2 separate regions of the Homo sapiens genome follow, and region 2 is linked to region 1. Evidence: promoter capture Hi-C in human tissues and cell types (Jung and others, 2019). All regions are on one chromosome and are shown on one strand. Each heading gives the region's core, a stretch centred on a gene start or on the middle of the fragment in contact. The rest is flanking DNA. Distances are from core to core; before and after follow the strand shown.

The links. Contacts are between HindIII fragments. The study calls those that stand out against the background at their distance.
Region 2: a contact is called between a fragment that was not itself captured here and the fragment with the promoter of FRMD1 in region 1, in 2 of the 25 tissues and cell types used here (H1 embryonic stem cells and hippocampus).

Annotation. Positions count from the first base shown.
Region 1 is chr6:168,077,819-168,080,830 of GRCh38, reverse strand. It overlaps FRMD1 (FERM domain containing 1), which reads left to right and starts at 1,619. Exons shown (of 11, transcript NM_024919.6): 1 at 1,619-1,949. The coding sequence starts at 1,737. RefSeq lists an enhancer at 1,907-2,628. The HindIII fragment of the contact is 22,554 bases long and covers 1-3,012 here.
Region 2 is chr6:168,349,831-168,352,842 of GRCh38, reverse strand. No RefSeq gene overlaps it. Among named protein-coding and RNA genes, the nearest start is that of DACT2, 32 kb to the right of the region's middle. The HindIII fragment of the contact is 3,485 bases long and covers 1-3,012 here.

The DNA.
Region 1 (3,012 bases), core at 370-2,869:
AAACCAGCGCCCGCACACACCAGCACCTGCACACACGTGGGGAACCATCGCTTTGATCATTAGTGCACCCAGCACAACTCCCCACCGTGTCCCCGGCTCTCCCCACCGAGGGGTCCTGGTGCCTGTTGTCCCCTCTGTGCTGTGTGTGCCGGTGGTGTTCTGCCACCCCCCAACCCTGGCCCCTGCCTGCCCTCTGCCACTGTCCTGCGCCCAGGCATCCTGAGAGGTGCAGCTGCTGCCGCCCTTCCTGATACGCCGGCACTGTGACTCCAGGCAGCGGCTGAGGGCACCCGGCACAGGGACGAGCTGCTCAGGCGCCAGTGGCACAGGGCCATGAGGATCCAGCCTCTGCTCTCTGGGGCTGTTTTTTTTTGTGGTTTTTTTGCCATTTTTAAAACTTTTTGTGCTCTCAGCTAAAGGGATCCCCACATCTTCCATAGTGAACAGCTCTACGTTTGCTGTGGAGAGAAAAGAGACCGCCACTGCTGTCTTGGGCACACATGTGTGGCCTCGAGGGTCTGGGAAGGGTCTGGATCTGAGCGGAGGGAGGGAGGGAGGGAGCCAGTGTCAGTCCAGGGTCCGGGGGAGGTGAGGCCTAAGCCTCCTAAATCTTCTCAACCCACCGGGCCGGGCCTTAGGGCGGCTGGAGTGCGAATTTCCTAAACCCACCGGGCCAGGCCTTAAGGCGGCTGGAGTGCGAATTTCCTAAGATGAACAACGGCCCGTCCGGAGGTCCAGACCCCTTACTAGAGGAAGGTCCCAGAGCATCCCAGACTCCATGGCAGGAAACTGATGGAGCTCACGGCTGAGGACAGAATTCCACAGCCCAGGCCCGTGGGAACTGCCTCTCCTGACCTGCAGCGCCCAAAGGTCTGGGTGGTCCCAGGGCCAGGCAGGATCCTGGGGTCCCTTCCCCACCTAACACTGTGCCAAAGAGCTCGAAGGCGTTGCTCATCTCTGCTGAGCGGCCTCAGGGGTTCCAGGCCCTGCGGGAGATGTCCCCACCCCTCGTGCTGATGCACCCGGCTGCTGTCCACGCAAGCCAGGACCCCCTTCCTGGCCTTCCAGCTGCTGCAGGCAGGAAGGGATTTGCTGGCCCTGGACAAGGAAGGAAGTGTCCTCAGTTTCCAGCCCCTAAAGGGAGCCAGGGTCCCTCCTGGCAGAACCTGTCCAGGAACGGCAGCTGTGCTGCTTCCTGAGGTCGATAACAGATGCCACAGGAGGTGTGTGGGGCAGGGTGCCCACCCAGGCTGCCTTCCTCCCGCCCTCCTCGTCCTGCCCTGCTGCTGCTCCATCTTCCCCAGCAGCCCTGGCTCTGGCATCTGTGCCCATGGGGTTTGCATAGCCCTCTCCACATTATAGAAGAAGGAGCAGGCACCCTGAGGAGATAGGGGTTGTCAGGTGGAGGAGTTGGGTCCTGTCTCCCCCAGCCTGGTTCTCACGGGGCCCACACCGAGGCTGGCTGCTGAGCTACCCTGCATGGGAGTGCTGCATGGCGGGTGCCCAGCCTGAGGTTGTTTATTTGCATTCCTGGCGCCCTCCACACACCCAGCTATTTGCAGCTCTGACCCTTGTCCTGGCTTGGCCATGCTGGATTCCCAGCCCAGGCTTCCCTCTCAATTCCCTTCCCAGTGAGAAGCTCGGCAAGGGCGGGTCCCGGAAAGCACAGCTGTGATCTGGGAGGTGCTGAGCACCCACCTGCGACCCATGGCGGGGGAGGGCCGAGTAACGACAGCATGGCGGTGCCCCCGAGAGGGAGGGGCATAGACCCCGCCCGGACAAACCCTGACACGTTCCCTCCTTCAGGGGCGCGATGTATGGAACCCAGTCCTGAGAGGCCTGCATGCAGTCAGCAGGAGCCGACCCTGGGAATGGACGCGATGGCCTCGGAACACAGGGATGTCCTCGTGCTGCTGCCCAGCCGGGAGCAACTGCGGCTGGCCGTGGGGGTGAGCAGGGCCCTGGGTGGCCGTGGGGGTAAACAGAGCTGTGGGGGTGAGCAGGGCTCCGGGTGGCCGTGGGGGTGAGCAGGGCCCTGGGTGGCCGTGGGGGTGAGCAGGGCCCTGGATGGCCTTGGGAGTAAACAGAGCCATGGGGGTGAGGAGGGCCCTGGGTGGCCATAGGGGTGAGCAGGGCTGTGGGGGTGAGCAGAGCCATGGGGGTGAGCAGGGCCCTGGGTGGCCGTGGGGGTGAGCAAGGCTGTGGGGGTGAGCAGGGCCGTGAGGGTGAGCAGAGCCGTGGGGGTGAGCAGGGCTGTGAGGGTGAGCAGAGCCGTGGGGGTGAGCAGGGCCGTGGGGGTGAGCAGGGGTATGGGGTGAGCAGAGCCTCAGGACACAGCCTGTGTATGGAAAGTCCCTGGACCGCCTCACTCTGCTTAGGCCAGGTGTCTGTGAGGTGTCAAGGGCCAGCCCTTTCACTGGGCCTGTGAAGGAAACATCCCTGATAGACGTTGCTGTGAGAAATAAGTTTATGGTTCAGCACATCCTTCCCGGGAGGGAGCGCTGAGGGAAGAGCGCCAGGAAGCCGGTTTCCAAGGAGCAGCTCCTGTCTTGTGTTCAGACGTCACCATCTCTATGCTTCTCTATTTCCTTTTCTTTTCCCTTTCCCCCATTTTGTCTACCTGTTTTAGTTGAGTTCATGGCGACAGGAGTTGAGATGGTACTTTCATTTTAATGATTAATGTGGATAATGAAAATGTGGCAATTAAAATGAGAGTGGTTTGTTGAAGAACGATGACTTTCTGCATAGCTAATGTATCATTGCTACCTGGAATGGAGTATGACTTGCTAGTAATATCCTGGTTCAAGTCCCCTGGGAATCTGGGAGTCTCTTGTCTGCTTCGGGATAGAGTTCTGTGTTTACGTAAACGCCCACATCTATGTTTGTGGCAAAATCTTCCCCAAGACTCTGTGTCCCCACCCAGCAACGAGAAGCTGGAGTTGAGCTAATGGGGGATGTCCTGTAGTTTCCTGGGGTCCCCAGCAGTGCCTCGGGCTGGGGGAGGGGTCATAA
Region 2 (3,012 bases), core at 137-2,636, 270 kb before region 1:
CTTTCGACTTCCAGGTAACAGCCCTTCTAAGGGATGTGAGGTGTTATCTCATAGTGGTTTTGATTCGCAACTCCCTGATGGCCACTGATGTTGAACACCTCTTCCTATACCTGTTGGACATTTTTATGTCTTCTTGGGAGAAAATGGCGATTCAGATCATTTGCCCATTTTTTAATAGGGTTTTCTACTATTGAGTTGTATGAGTTCTTTATACATTTTGGATACTAACCCTTGATATGGTTTGGCTCTGTGTCCCACCCAAATCTCATGTTAAATTGTAATCCCCAATATTGGAGGTGATTAGATCTTGGGGGCAGAGTTCTCATGAATGGGTAGTATCATCCCTCAGTGCTGTTCTGGGGATGGTGAGTGAGTGAGTTATCATGAGATCTGGTTGTTTAAAAGTGTGCGGCACCTCCCCCCACCTCTTTCTCCTGCTCCAGACATGCCACGTGCTGGCTCCCTGTTGGCCTTCCGCCGTGACTGTAAGTTTCCTGAGGCCTCCCAGAAGTTGAGCAGATGCCAGCACTGCTCCAGCCATGCCATGTGCTGGCATTCTCCTGCTCCAGCCATGCCATATGCTAGCTCCCTGTTGGCTTTCTGCCATGACTGTAAATTTCCTGAGGCCTCCCCAGAAGCTGAGCAGATGCCAGCACCATGCCTCCTGCACAGCCTGCAGAACTGGGAGCCAATTAAATCTCTTTTCTTTATAAATTACCCAGTCTCAGGTGTTTCTTTATAGCCGTGCGAGAATGGACTCATACAGCCCTTTATCAGGTCTATGGTTTCCCAATCCATGGGCTGCCGTTTTATTTTGTTGATTATTTCCCTTGCTTTGCAGAAGCTTTTTAGTTTGATGTAGTCCCATTTATTCATTTATTTATTTATTGCTTTTGTAGCCTGAGCTTTTGATGTGACATCCAAGAATCACTGCCAAGGCCAATGTTAAAGAGCTTTTAGCTTCTGTTTTTTTCTTGTATTTTTATGGTTTCAGGTTTTACATCAAAGTCTTTAATCCATTTTAAGTTGATTTTTCTGTTTGGTGTAAGATAAGGGTCCAATTTCATTCTTTTTCACATGGAAATCCAGTTTTCCCATTACCATTTGTTGAAGAGACTGACTTTTCTCCATTGAGTCCTCTTGGTGCTCTTGTCAAAAACTAGTGGACCATCCATGTTTGGATTTATTCCTGGGCTCTCTATTCTGTTTCATTGGTACATGAGACTGTTTTTATGAAAGTCCTGTACTGTTTTGATTACTATAGCTTTGTAATATAATTTTAAATCAGGAAGTGTGATGCCTCCAACTTTATTTTTCTTTCTCATTCTTGTTTTGGCTATTTGGAGTCTCTTATGTTCCATATACATTGTAGTTTTTTTTTCTATTTCTGTAAAGAATGCCACTAGGATTTTGATAGGGGTTGAATTAAATCTGTCCATTGCTTTGGGCAGTGAGGACATTTTTGCAATATTAATCATTTCAAGTCATGAACACAAGATCCTTCCATTTATTTGTGTCTTCTTCAAACTTCTTTCATCAATGTTTCATCGTTTTCTGCATACAGATCTTTCACCTCTTTGGTTAAATTTATTCCTTGGCATTTTGTTTATTTCTATGTGTTGTAAATGGGATTGTTTTCTTGATTTCTTTTTCAGCTAGGTTATTATTTATATATCCTACAACTTAACTGGATTCATTTAGTAGTTCTAACACTGGTTTCATTTTGTGGAACTCTGAGGTGTTTTACACATATGATCATGTTCTCTACAGATGGAGATAATGTTACTTCCTCGTTTCTGCGGATGCCTTTTCTTTCTTTTTCTTGTTTGATTGCCCTTGCTAGGACTTCCATGCTATGTTGAACAGAGTGGCAAGAGTGGGCATCCCTGCCTCATAGCAGATCTTGGTGGAAAAGCTTTTAATTTTCCCTCTTGTACACAGTTGGTGGAAATGTAGATTGGTACAGTCATTATGAAAAACAGTATAAGCTTCCTCAAAAAATTCAAAATAAGAACCACCATATGACTCAGCCTTTCCTCTGCTGGATATAGATTCAAAATCCATGAAACCAGTGTCTCAAAGAGACGTCTGCACCTGCATGTTTATTGCAGCACTGTTCACAACAGCCAAGATGTGGGGGGGAAGAAAACCTTAAGTGTCTATTGGCAGACAAATGGTTTAAAAAAACTGTGGTACATACACATCATGAAATATTATTTAGCCCTAAAAAGGAGTGAGATCTTGTCATTTTGCCACTGCATGGGTGAACCTACAGAACATCCTTCTGCTGAGTGAAATAAGCCAGACACAGAAGGAAACATATTGCATAATCTCACATGTGGAAACTAAACAAATATTTTAAATCAAATATACAGAAAGAACAAAACAGTGGTTTACAGGGACGTGGTGGGCGAGGGGAATGGGGAGATGTAGCAAATGTGTAGGTGTCTGGAGATCTCGTGTACAACATGGAGAGATGTAGACATGTAGGTGTCTGGAGGTCTTGTGTACAACATGAGGACTGCGGGGAAGGAAGCATTTGGAATTCATGCTGAGTAGATTCTTGCCACTGCTGTGGTCAGGCTGTGTGTCCCCACCCACCTCTTCTTGAATTGTAATCTCCAGGTGTTCAGGGAGGGACCTGGTGGGAAGTGATTGGATTAAGGGGCTGTTTCCCCCATGCTGTTCCTGTGACAGTGAGTGAGTTCTTACGAGATCCGGAGGTTGTATAAGGCACTTTTCCCTGTTCTTGCTCTCTCTCTTTCCTGCTGCCGTGTGAAGAAGGTCTTTGCTTCCTGTTCAGCTTCCACTATGACTGTAAGTTTCCTGAGGCCTCACCAGCCATGCAAAACGGTGAGTCAATTAAACCTCCTTTGTTTATAAATTACCCAGTCTCAAGTAGCATCTTTATAGCAGTGTGAAAACAGACTACTACAGCCACCTTGTCACAAAATCAAACAAACAAAATGAGTAACTAGGTGAGATAATGGATATGTACTTTGGTTCATCATA